Linked DNA regions of Homo sapiens: region 1 is linked to region 2. Evidence: promoter capture Hi-C in 16 types of primary human blood cells and fetal thymus (Javierre and others, 2016). All regions are on one chromosome and are shown on one strand. The core of a region is centred on a gene start or on the middle of the fragment in contact, and the rest is flanking DNA. Distances in the headings are between cores, read along the strand shown. Region 1 has its middle 3.8 kb from the start of SKAP2. Region 2 holds the start of TAX1BP1 (Tax1 binding protein 1).

What was found. Contacts are between HindIII fragments. The CHiCAGO score rates a contact against its expected background, and 5 or more counts as called.
Region 1: a contact is called between a fragment that was not itself captured here and the fragment with the promoter of TAX1BP1 in region 2, in 1 of 17 cell types (fetal thymus). The highest score is 6.5, in fetal thymus.

Annotation. Positions count from the first base shown.
Region 1 is chr7:26,865,134-26,871,605 of GRCh38, reverse strand. No RefSeq gene overlaps it. Among named protein-coding and RNA genes, the nearest start is that of SKAP2, 3.8 kb to the right of the region's middle. RefSeq lists an enhancer at 6,449-6,472. The HindIII fragment of the contact is 885 bases long and covers 4,780-5,664 here.
Region 2 is chr7:27,735,083-27,742,054 of GRCh38, reverse strand. It overlaps TAX1BP1 (Tax1 binding protein 1), which reads right to left and starts at 1,893. Exons shown (of 17, transcript NM_006024.7): 1 at 1,786-1,893. It overlaps TAX1BP1-AS1 (TAX1BP1 antisense RNA 1), which reads left to right and starts at 1,380. Exons shown (of 2, transcript NR_187572.1): 1 at 1,380-2,039. RefSeq lists enhancers at 232-1,095, 1,610-1,879, 1,096-1,958 and a silencer at 1,210-1,442. The HindIII fragment of the contact is 7,568 bases long and covers 1,432-6,972 here.

The DNA.
Region 1 (6,472 bases), core at 3,973-6,472, 870 kb after region 2:
TGCAGCTTCTGTCTTGGTTGCTCTGTCTTGTGGATTAATTGCTTTGGGAAGCCAGTTGTCATATCATGAGGATACTCATGCAGCCTTATGGAGAAGTCCATGTTGTGAACAAGTGAGGCTTTTTTCTAACAGACAAAGAGGAATGGAGGACTCTAGTCAGCAGTCCTGTAGATGAGCCATCATCAAATCAGATTCTCTAGCCATGGTCAAGTCTTCAGGTGACTGCAGTTCTTATGAGAGACTCTGAGCCAGAGTCATCTAGCTAAGCTGCTCATGTATTCCTAACCACCAGAAACTGTGAGATACTGTTTGTTTTAAGCTACTCAATTTTGTTATTCAGCAATAGATAGCTAATATAATGCCTAAGTATAAATATAATCTTTCTTCCACATGCCTATGAAAGCCAAATAAAAATGAAGATGAGAGGCTGAGAAAAGTAAATTGTGTTTGGCTTACTTTCTATTTTTCTTCGGTGCTCTTTTAGCTTCTCTTAAACCTAGGCCTGTGGGAAAATACTTATTCAGTGCCCCTAAGCTAATTTTGAAGAACATAAGAAAGGCAGTTAGCTTCAGTTATAGGGATATATACATATATCTTTGAACTGGAGGATCTACTTTTGGGAAGACAAATCATAAGATTTTATCAGAGTCTAGTCTCTCCTTTGTAGAATGGTAGGGAGGCCATTACCTCTCTTAGGTTGAGATTTAAAGTTACATTTATTATTCTTTTTTTTCAACCTAATATGACTAGTTTAAAGAATGTAAAGTATGATTTGATTTACTTCTTGGTTTTTGTTATGGAAACAAGAGAAATAAGAATGTATTTCTCCTAACTTCTCTTTATTACACTTTCCATCTTATAATCAATTTCAATAACTTTAACAATAAACAGTAAAAATGATAGACTATACAAAGCATTGCCCAAGTGAATCTATCATGGACCTGTGTCTGAGAATGGCTTCCTAAATAGGGAAAATGTGTTTCACACAAAAAGTCCATTTTCTGTTATTGCCTTTTTTTATTTGGACTATGAGATGCTATATATTTTAAGGTAATCTTAATAGTTTCCTGTCTCTCACTAACAAGAATGACTTGTCATAATGAGCAGTGTAGACACTGTCCATTTGATCCACTCCAGAAAGCTGTCTATTTGATACAAGAGCAAATCACCTCAATTCCTTAGTGGAATGAGTGGAGTATAAGTAAATAAATGAGACACAGGAATTTAAAAACAGGTTCAGTTCTATCAGAAGGAAACAAAGGATTGGGACATTTGGAAACCTGGTTTAATAAAAAATGTGACAAGACAAAGAATTATGTGTGATAACTGTAGAAGGAGGAAGAATCCTCCCTAATATAAAATGTCCATGAAATAGTTGTTTTCTTCTTTAGGAAGGAAGATAATTTTGTAGCTTAAGAAAAATAGTTCTCAATTCTTTGAAGTTGGAAGACGTATATTGTAAAATGACTATTTATTTACTTTTACCTCCACCAAAAACAATTCAAATTTTCAGTGCTCTTTCTATAATTCATCACATTTTAAAATCTGGGTAGGAATTTCAGATTCCATTTTGGGGAATGGGTTTGTTTGCAGGGGTGTCTTTTTTTGTTGTTATTTTTGCATGTTTTACTTCAGCCGTAAAGTTTTTGTCTTTTATTTGTTTGTTTGTTTTGAGAGGCAAGATACAGACTCGAAAATGCTCTATTTTTTCTTTTATAACTAGTTTACTTTTATCTCAGAGAATTACACAAAAATGTCATACTGCATTTGACTTTCTAATTTTTTATTAGACTGTCTGAAGTGTTTTTGATGAACTATTAATAAAGTTGTTATTCTGTGTTAGGTTTAGGGTTCCAGCTGAGGATGAAAGATAAGTTACAACAAATTTTGTGCCCTGTAGGAGCTGGGAAGTAGCAAAGTGATTCTTAAAATGAAATTTCATGATGTCTTGCATTCACCTATGAGGACTTTTTTTTTTCAGTGCCAGGGTCTTGCTCTGTTGCCCCACGCTGGAGTGCAGTGGCGCAATCTCGGCTCACTGCAATCTCCACCTCCCAGGTTCTAGCAATTCTCTTGCTTCAGCCTCCCGAATAGCTGGGACTACAGGTGCATGCTACCACGCCCAGCTAAGTTTTTGTATTTTAGTAGAGATGGGGTTTCACCATGTTGTTCAGGCTGGTCTCAAACTTCTGAGCTCAGGCAATCCACCCACCTCAGCCTCCCAAAGTGCTAGGATTACAGGCATGAGCTACAGCTGAGGATTGTTTAACACGCAGATTCTCAGGCCCCACCCTAAAAAGACTGACTCAGAATCTCTGGGGATGGGATTTGAGAATTCACAATGTAATAGGTTCTCTCTGTGATTCTAATGAAAACTATAGTTTGATCTAGTGAAAGTTGGAGGGTAAAGGAATAAACAATTTACAATGTGACTGGAGCCCAGGAACAATGTAAGATATAATAGTAACTTCTAGGAAAGAGCCACTATCTCTACCAAGGGAAATCTAAGTGAAGGCTTAATATAGAAGCTGACATTTGCGTGGTTTTGAAAACGTGCCTTGCCAAGCAGAGATGGAGGGTGTGGCAGGGGGCATCTCAATGACTCATGTTGTCAATGATATTTTCACTAAGAGAAATACACAGTGTATACTCACTAAATGCTTTGCCTAGGAAGTTTCTGTCTGAAGCCTTCCTCCTCAGCCTCTATTCTGTGTTCTTCAGGGATTTCAGCGACTTCATTTTCGTTGATGGTTCCGCACCAGGTTTTGAGGGATTTTAATGGTTAAGAGGCACTTGAATGTAATAAATATGTATATACGTACATATATGTAATAAATACATGAGTGTATACACACACACACACACAAACAGGCATACCTCACAGATTTTCCAGGTTAGGTTCTAGACCAAACCAATAAAGCAACTATTGCAGTAAAGTGAGTCACACAAATACTTTGGTTTCCCAGTGCATATAAGCATTATGTTTACTGTAGTTTATTAAGTATGCAGTAGCATTATGTCTGGAAAAATAACTAACACACCTACTTAAAAATACTTTATTGCACCTGGGCATGTCGGTACATTCCGGTAGTCCCAAGCCACTCAGGAGGCTGAGGTGGGAGGATCCTTTGAGCCCAGGAGTTCCAGGCCAGTCTGGGCAAACATAGAGAGACCTCCATCTCTAAAAAACCCCCAAAACTTTATTGCTAAAAAATGATAATGATCATCTGAGTCTTCAGCATGTTATCTTTTTTCTGGTGGAGGGTCTTGCCTCAATGTGAATGGCTGCTGACTGATCAGGGTGGTGATTGCTGAAGGCTGGGATGGCTGTGGCAATTTCTTAAAATAAAACAAAAATGAAATTTGCTGCCTTGAGAGACTCTTCCTTTCATGAACGATTTCTCTGTGGCATGTGATGTTGTTTGCTAGCATTTTACCCACAGTAGAACTTCTTTCAATACTGGAGTCAATCCTCTCCAACCACTGCTTTATCAACTAAGTTGACGTAGTATTCTAAATCCTTTCTTATTATTTCATCAGTATTCACAGCATCTTCACTGGAGTAGATTTCATCTCAATAAACCACTCTCTTTGCTCATTCATAAGAAGCAACTCCTCATACCTCCAAGTTTTACCATGAGATTGCAGCAGTTCAGTCACATCTGCAGGCTCCACTTCTAACTGTAGTTCCCTTGCTATTTCCACCACATCCTCCACTGGTCTTGAACCCCTCAAAATCATCCCTGAGGGTTGGAATCAACTTCTTCCAAACTCCTGTTAATGTTGGACATTTTGACCTCTTCCCATGAATCATGAATATTCTTAATTGCATCTAGAATGGTGAACCTTTTTCAGAAGGTTTTCAATTTACTTTGCCCAGATATATTAGATAAATGACTATCTATGGCAACTATAGCCATATAATATATATATATATGTATATATATATGTATATATAGGTATATATATGTATATATATGTATATATATATGTGTGTATATATATATGTATATATATGTATATATATGTGTGTATATATATATATATATATTTTTTTTTTTTTTTAAGATAGGGTCTCATTTGTGGCCCAAGCTGGAGTTCACTGGCACAGTCATACCTCCCTGTAATCTTGAACTCCTGGGCCCAAGGGATCCTTACATCTCACCTTCATGAGTAGCTAGGACTACAGGCACACACCACCACACCTGGCTAATTATTCTTTTTTTTTTTTTTTTTTTTTTTTTTTTTGTAGAGATGGGGTGCCACTATGTTGCCCAGGCTGGTCTTGAACTCTTGGCCTCAAGTGATCCTCCTGCCTCAGCCTCCCAAAGTGCTGGGATTACAGGTGTAACCCACCATGGCCAGCCATGAAATGTATTTTTTAAATAAGACTTGAAAGTTGAAACTACTCTTTGATCCATGGGCAGCAGAATGGATGTGGTACTAGCAGGCATGAAAACATTAATCTTCTTGTATATCTCCATCAGAGCTCTTGGGTGACCAGGTGCATTGTCAATAAGCAGCAATATTTTGAAAGGCATCTTTTTTTCTGAGCAGTAGATCTCAACAGTGTGCTTAAAATACTCAGTAAATCATTCTGTAAACAGATGTGCTGTCATCCAGGCTTTGTTGTTCCACTTATAGAGCACAGGCAGAGTAGATTTATCATAATCCTTAAGGGCCCTAGGATTTTCAGAATGGTAAATGAGCATTGGCTTCAACTTAAAGTCAGCAGCTGAAATAGTTCCTAAGAAGAGAATCAGCCTGTCCTTTGAAGCTTTGAAGCCAGGCATTGACTTCTACTCTATAGCTACGAAAGTCCTAGATGGCATTGTTTTCCAATAAGTGTTGTTTCATCTACACTGAAACTCTTTGTTTAGTATAGCCACCTTCATCAGATATCTTAGCTAGATTTTTTTTTTTTTTTTTTTTTTTTTGAGATGGAGTCTCGCTCTGTCGCCCAGGCTGGAGTATAGTGGCGCAATCTTGGCTCACTGCAAACTCTGCCTCCTGGGTTCACGCCATTCTCCTGCCTCAGCCTCCCGAGTAGCTGGGACTACAGGCGCCTGCCACCACACCCGGCTAATTTTCTTTTTTTTTTGTATCTTTTTTTTAGTAGAGACGGGGTTTCACTGTGTTAGCCAGGATGGTCCCGATCTCCTGACCTCATGATCCGCCCGCCTCATCCTCCCAAAGTGCTAGGATTACAGGCATGAGCCACTGCACCTGGCCTTAGCTAGATCTTTTTGATAACTTGCTGCAGCTGCTTCACCAGCATTTGCTGCTTCACCTTACAATTTTATGCTCTGAAGATGGCTTATTTCCTTAAACATCATGAACCAACCTCTGCTAACTTCCAACTTTTCTTCTGCAGCTTCTTTACCTCTCAGCCTTCGTAGACTTGAAGAGAGTTAGGGCCTTGCACTCGATTAGGCGTTGGCTTAAGGGAATGTTATGTCTGGTTTGATCTTCTATCCAGAACATGAAAACGTTTCTTTACCAGCAATAAGCCTCCTTCGCTTTCTTATCATTCGTGTGTTCACTGGAGTAGCATTTTTACTTTCCTTCAAGGACTTTTCCCTTGCATTCACTACCTGGCTGTTTGGTGCAAGAGCCCTAGCTTTTGGTCTGTCTCGGCTTTCAATATGCCTTCCTCACTAAGCTTAATCATTTCTAGCTTTTGATTTAAAGTAAGCTTTTGATTTAAAGTAAAATGATTCTTTTACTGGAACACTCAGAGGCCATCGTAGGGTTATTAATTGGCTTAATGTCAATATTGTTGTGTCTCAAGGAATGGGGAGGCCCAAGAGAGGGAGAGATATGGAGGAAGGTATAGGGTTGGTAGAGCAGTCAGAACACACACATTTATGGATTACAGTCGCTGTCTTATATGGGTGCTGTTTGTGATGTCCCAAAGTAATTATAATAGTAACTTCAAAGATCACCATAACATATACAATAATAATGAAAAAGTTTGAAATATTGTTAGAATCACCAAAATGTGACAGAGACATGAACTGAGCACATGCTTTTGGAAAAATGGCGCCCACAGATTTGCTTGATGCAGGGTTGCCACAAACCTTCAATTTGTTAAAAAATGCAATATCTGGGAAGCACAAAGATGTATGCCTGTTAAAGGTTTTAAAGAAGCCATTTTTTTTAAAAGAGAAAACTTTTAAGAAGCTTTACAGATAGAAGACAGTAAGTATTTGTTGACTAAATGGTCAAGTTGGAGTGAGCAGATTTTATAATTTTATTCTACTAACCACCACCAGCAATTTTATTTTTGATGCTTGTAGATGGACAGTGGTGCCAATGTCTATTCGGCCTTCTGTTTTTTTGTTTTGTTTTGTTTGTTTTTTCCTGCCAAAGGACGGTGCTTAGAACTTCCCAGTCTTCCTTGTAGTGGGGAAAATCTGTCACCCCAAGGATACGAATTAGGTAGAAAAGTAATGTAAGAGCCAATCACAAC
Region 2 (6,972 bases), core at 644-3,143:
GGAAAAACCGCCTTAGGGCTGGAGGTGGGACATGTGGGCAGCAATACTGCTTTGTAAAGCATTGAGATGTTTATGTGTATGCATATCTAAAAGCACAGCACTTGATTCTTTACCTTGTCTATGATGCAAAGACCTTTGTTCACGTGTTTGTCTGCTGACCCTCTCCCCACTATTGTCTTGTGACCCTGACATAGCCCCCTCTCGGAGAAACACCCACAAATGATCAATAAATACTAAGGGAACTCAGAGGCTGGCGGGATCCTCCATATGCTGAACGCTGGTTCCCCGGATCCCCTTATTTCTTTCTCTGTACTTTGTGTCTTTTTCTTTTCCAAGTCTCTCATTCCACCTAACGAGAAACACCCACAGGTGTGGAGGGGCAACCCACCCCTTCAGTGTGGTGGTGCGCGCCTGTAATCCCAGGTACTCAGGAGGCTGAGGCAGGAGAATCGCTTGAACCTGGGAGGCGGAGGTTGCAATGAGCCGCGATCGCGCCACTGCACTCCAGCCTGGGAGACAGAGCAAGACTCCATCTCAAGGAAAAAAAAAAAAAAAGAACGTGATGACTAGAAAACAAAAACTACAATGTTCTTTGAAGTTGAACAATCAGTTTGAAAAATAAATAAAACCTTATTAGAAGTCGGCATCATCAAACAATCCTTCAAGTTTACCCTTGAAAGGAACAGAACGAAAGAGAAAGGCTGTCCTAAGCTCCTTCCCTAAACCCGAAAAGCACTTTGAGGACGATCGACCCACTTTTAGTTTCTATTCAAATGATCTCTTTAAATCCTTTAGGAATTGAGCACCAAACTTGTAACTATTAATTGTTCGTGCACAGCTCGTAGAAATTTTAACATTAGCAGAATGCAGACAGCTGAAAAATCAAGATTTATTTTCCCATCTAAAGCCTAACATAATAGCAATTCATAACCACTGTGTGAAACCGGAAATCTAACACTGTGTATGTCTAAAGTCAAATGCCAGTGTTTTCTAACAAAACTTTTACCAATAAGGTGTGTACACACACCCACACAGACGCACGCTAAGCTCAATTTTTTACTAATAAGGTGTACGCGCGCGCGCGCACGCTAAACTCTAGCCACAGATTCCCTAAGCCAGGAGTGCAAGTCGGTCGGGACTAGTCCACACCTTGCGAACGGGGCGGGGTGGGGAATGGATTCCAGGTGAAGCAGGCCATCAGCCAGAACCGCCAACTCCGCCCGCGGCCCTCAAAAGTAGGCGGCGCAGGGAGTCTCCGCCCCCTTCGCCACCGGCGACTCAAACCAAAACAGCTGGGTTTCTCTCCGCAAAGGCAAACCCCAGCGTCCTTCTCGGACGCGACCTACGTGTTTTCTCAGCTTACTGCGCCGGTAAAACCCACACTGCCCTCAAAACAGTCACCCCAGAGTTTAGCCTTGGACACCAGAAGCTTTTCCTTCGGGGGTCGCCAGCGTCACTCGTCCCCAGCCAAAGGGCCCCCGTCCCACACGCCTCCCCCAAATCGCGAAGGCCTGTCCCACGGGCCTCCCACCGCGTGGGGCGGCCACCCGTTGCCATTCCAAAACTCCACAGCTGATCCGAGTCGCCCACACCCCCGTCACAATCGCAGTCTGGAAAGGAAGGTTTGTCTTCGGGAAGGAAAGCCTCGTCACCACAGAGACCTCTCCCGAGACCGGCCAGGCCCCTACAGTACAGGGGCTGAAGGGTGTAGCACGAGCCCTAAAAGAGATGCAGCTGGAGGCCGCCCCGCACAAGGCGCTGGGGTGGACCGGGGAGGCGCCTTACCCAGTGGAAAGACTCCCGGATCAAGGGAGAAAGTTACGCAGGCTTCCGATCCTGATCCGCCATCAGCCGCCGAACCTCTTCCGCCACTACCGCCTACCCCCAAAGACCGGCTACACCTCCCCTCCCAGCCGACAGTAGGCCTTGCGTCACTTCCGCCCACGGGGCGGTCTCTTCCGCCTCCTGCCTGGTTCGCCGCTCCCCTCCGCGACGACACGCCCCCAGCCCACTCCGCCGCGGGACGCCTCATCCCGCGGGTAGGCTGGCTCTCTCCTTACTTCGTCCTTGCTATTTTCGTTCAACTTAATCGCAGCAAAACAATGCGTCTGGATTTACATTCTGATTTTATGTTATTATTTTGACATACGAAAGGGGGAAACACACAGGAGGTTTAAGTAACTCACCAGCGATGTGGAAAGGGCAGCTCAGAGGTCCATGGACAGTACCGTATCCCTGTCTGCGTCTCAGTCGGCCTAAACTAGCCCACTCATTTTATAGATAAGGAAATAGCCAGAGAAGCAAGGGAGTGACCACACGGCTAGGGCTGCAAACCCCTGAGCACCAAGACTGTCTCTGAACTCCTGGCCCAGTCGTGTGCTTTTTTGGCTATGAAGTTTTGTTCACTGAAAGCTCCTAGGAGCTTTTCAGTTCTAATGCCCTCTGATTCTATTTGCTCTCGCTCCAGCAGAGGCCTCTTTTCTAGCCGCATTTCTGTGAGTTACCTGCTTTTGTTATCCGTATCATTTTCCGTGTGTGAATTTTCTCCCGCGTTCTGTTATTTCTAAAATCACTTTTGCTTGTTGTATATGTTGCCTTCCTATATTGGACATTCAGTTTGAATCGTAACTCCACAGAAGCAAATGTGTCCCATTCGAATTCATCATAGTCTTCTGTTGCCGTAAAACCCTGACAAACCTTGCAATAGCACCAGAAAGGATATGTAAATTAGATCGCATTAAATGTTGAAGCACATTCTAAATACAGAACATTCAAAATTATCTTTCATATACTTTCATCTTTACTTCCAGTTATTTCAGAAGACATTAGCTTTGATAACATAGGTTCTCAATATTTACAGACTGATTTGTTTCCTGTGTATTGACATTTTTGAACTTGGTCTTGTGCTGGGTATTATACTTGATCATAGAATTTCAGAAGAACCTTAATAGGCCATTTAGTCCCAGTCTCCTTATTTTATGGATGAAGAAAACGGTGTGAATAATCAACATAAGTTATCACTTGCGTTACTGGTAGCAACCTTCTGGTAGTAGAAATAACTGTGTCCCTTAAGAAATGTAAACATAGCAGTGAATTTTATAAGCACAATTTGTCAGAGATGTCACTCTTTGTTTAAATCACATTCCTATTTATATGTAATACATTTTTAATTACCACTAATTTTCAGTTAATGAAATCAGAAAAACAGTATGCTTAATAAAAACCATAATTGAAAGACTTTTTTTTTTGCCCTGAGAGGGACGGAGTTTCGCTCTTGTTGCTCAGGCTGCAGTACAGTGGCGCGATCTCGGCTCACTGCAACCTCCGCCTCCCGGGTTCAAGCAATTCTCCTGCCTCAGCCTCCCAAGTAGCTGGGATTACAGGAGCCAGCCACCACGCCTGGCTAATTTTTGTATTTTTAGTAGAGAGGAGGTTTCGCCGTGTTGGTCAGGCTGGTCTCAAAGGACATTTTCACAGGTATTTTTACTTTGTTATTTTTAATTATTTCTTGAATTTTTAGACCTTATTTTCCCCAGGAAGGTATTTGTTCTGGAATTTTAGCTTGCTTCATTCATTTTAATAATGATCCTTTAATTTTTAGACCAAGTTTTTCCCACCAAGATAAATAGATACCCTCTTAGTATTTAATTGAATTTCTGGGTTTTGGGGGAGTAGGGTTTGGGTTTTTTGTTTGTTTGTTTTTTGAGACAGAGTCTCGCTCTGTCACCTAGGGTGTAGTGCAGTGGCATGATCTCGGGTCACTGCAACCTCCACCTCCCAGATTCAAGCAATTCTCCTGCCTCAGCCTCCCCAGTGGCTAGGATTACAGGCGCACACCACCACACTGGGCTAATTTTTATATCTTTAGTAGAGACGGGGTTTCTCCATGTTGGCCAGGCTGGTCTCCAACTCCTGACCTCAGGTGATCTGCCTGCCTCAGCCTCCCAAAGTGCTGGGATTACAAGCATGAGAGACCGCACCCGGCTTTAATTGAATTTCTTAAAGTTAGCCTCTTATTTGTATGGCAGTGGACTATGGCTAGAAGAGATATGGATTCACTTCCTTTAAGTGAAATCTTTCTGCCAGATGGATTTCAGAATTCAGAATTTTTCAGACTTTAGAGAGGTGTGCTTTATGTGACATTCCTCACTATCTGGGGCAGCACCCACAGTCAACTTTTTTTTCCGGAACAATTATGAATATCACACTAAGATAAATGAAATGTATAGTCTCACTCAAGTCAAGTTTTTCAGGTCAGGTTCTGCCACTTTGCCCTTGGGTTCAGGTCAAGTTTTAATGACAAATGAGTCAGGTCAAACAGGTTTTGCCACCAAATGTTGAGAAAACATTTGATTTTCAGAGCTTTTTCTTTTTTTTTTTTTTTTTGAGACGGGGTCTCTGCCCTCTTCCCTGTCACCCAGGCTGGAGAGCAGTGGCAAGATTTCGGCTCACTGCAACCTCTGCCTCCCAGGTTCGAGTGATTCTCCTTCTGGGATTACAGGCATGAGCCACCGCACCTGGCCAATTTTCAGAGCTTTTTAGATTTCGAAGTGGTGAATATTGAGAGAATTATTGGAAAGTAAATCAGTGAGTAACCCATGATTTTTCTGGAGCAACTACAGTGTCAAGTAGTTTCTAGGCAGTTGTCCTGTGTTTGATTGGGAAAATATGCTGACTATATTTAAAAGGCACTGTTCTTTCATTAGAGGAACTTATGATAGCAAAGGGAAGAAAAGAAATGAGCCCATGAAAATGTAGGTAACTAAAGTGTAAATGAATAGGAAGACAGATATTCAGAGATGGGAGAAAGTACAGGCTTATGTTAGCAGTACACTTTTCATGGGGGAGGCAGGCCTAGACTGTCAAAGTGAGGTATGATTTCGATGAGGAGATGGAGGAGGAGGACTTTCCAGTCAGGATTTAAGAGCTTGGGCAAGGGAATCAGGCAAGAAGAAAATTGTTAACCAAAAATAATAATTTCCTCCAAAGTTCATTCATTCACCATTGTGTCATGTCGCTTCTTAATAAGAGCATTTTGTTCATTTACTATGTGCTCTGGGAAAAACAAGGAATCAAGCATGGTTTCTTCCCTGAAACTGCTTAAAATCAGGTCAAGATGTTACCGGATGGTATAGATAACTGTCAAATTTGAAGGAAATGGACTATGAGAAATAAAGTAGAAAGATATACAGAATAATTAATTTTGAAATTAGCTAGACTTTGTAAAAGAGATTGGTCTCTAAACTTCAAAAGACTGATAAGATTTGAAAAGATGAAAAAAAGGCTTACATAGTGAGAATAATATAATTTAAAAGGCACAGATGGGACAACTAGATAGCAAAACATGGATTGAAAATTTTTGAAAAAGTTCAAATAGACATGTTTTATTAGAAACATTACAGGTTTTAAAAGCCAGGCAAATGAGTTGTTCTCCTTTCTTAGAACAATGGTTTACATTAGAATTTGTATTAAAGATTCCTTTTGTTATAAATGATTCTTAATTAAAAAGAAAAAAACACCTTTGTAAACCTTTGTTTTAAAAAGAGAGCTTTTTTTTTTTTTTAGGCAGAGTCTCACTCTTTCACCCAAGCTGGAGTGCAGTGGCGCAATCTTGGCTCACTGCAACCTCTGCCTCCCGGGTTCAAGTGATTCTCCTGCCTCAGCCTCCCAAGTAGCTGGGACTACAGGTGCATGCCACCACACCCAGATAATTTTTTTGTATTTTTAGTTGAGACGAGGTTTCACTATGTTGGCCAGGATGGTCTCAATCTAAAAAGAGAGCCTTTAAAAATGAGATTTGAATAATGGTAGGCTTTGGATAGGCAGAGAAAGAGAGGATTCCAAACACTCTAAAATAGGCTGATTTTCTCTTTCCCTGTCTGTTAGATTTTATTGATGTATTCATTGCTCCTTGTTTCCCAATCATTACCTACCTAGGTGCTTGTAACACACCTTTGCTCCTTTGAGATATACACTGTTGTGTTATGCTCCGTCTTCCCTCCCTGTGGCTGTCGTCTTCTGATCTCCAAGTCACTGTTCCTCATTCAGTGAAGAGTGTCACCTAGTGCACAGTCTCCTCCATTCTAAGCCATTCATTGTCTACTTGGATGAGATTAAAATGAAAAGGCCAACATCCCAGCATTTTAATTTCCTGAATCCCTCATCTCAAATACTCCACTCCAGATACCTATTTCTGTGGTCACACCTTGGCCCTTGCCATCATCTTGAAAAGCAAGCCTCCTACTCTTTGACCACAATCTCCTATTCTTCTAACTTGTTCATTCAAATATGCCCAGCAGAACTATTTTTCAAACTCATCAGCATCTCAATCCATTTCTTTTTTTAATACTTCCCTCAGTATCCAACTTAGAGTCCATAGCTATAATTTCATTAACACGACTTCCAACACCTTAAACTCCCTTGACTTCCTATCTTGCACATTAAGGAAAATTTCCTATAACAAATGCATTACAGACTTTGTAGTCATCACATGCTTTACACTAAAGTTTACGTCTGGAAATACTAAGCAGAAACTTTGAAGTTAAAATTGAGTGTTTTGGGAAGTTTCTTGCACTATCAAAAAGAGAAACTATAATTTATGATACTAAGAAACAGAGCCTGCAGAGGTTTATATAAGACCTTTGCCCCATTGGCTCCTAACAGTGTTCTTTGTTCCTTGTGCAACTGAAAGGTCACTAGAATGTAAATATTTTCTAACCTCTCTTCCTCATCTTACTGAGAAGAGTAATAGCCAGCAAAGTACTTTGAATTTTTAAGGTACTTATGTCAACAAGATTCTTCCTTCCCAGTGTTTCTTATTAAATACCTGTATTTTGTGAGTCACTGTGTATCAATGATAATTAAAGTTAATAAAAATTATTTTAAGGAAATGTTAAGATAATCTTCAAATGTTTAATTTTAACCAAGGCTAAATCAAAGTTTTAGGCTCAAATATGTTTTTATTTCACAGAT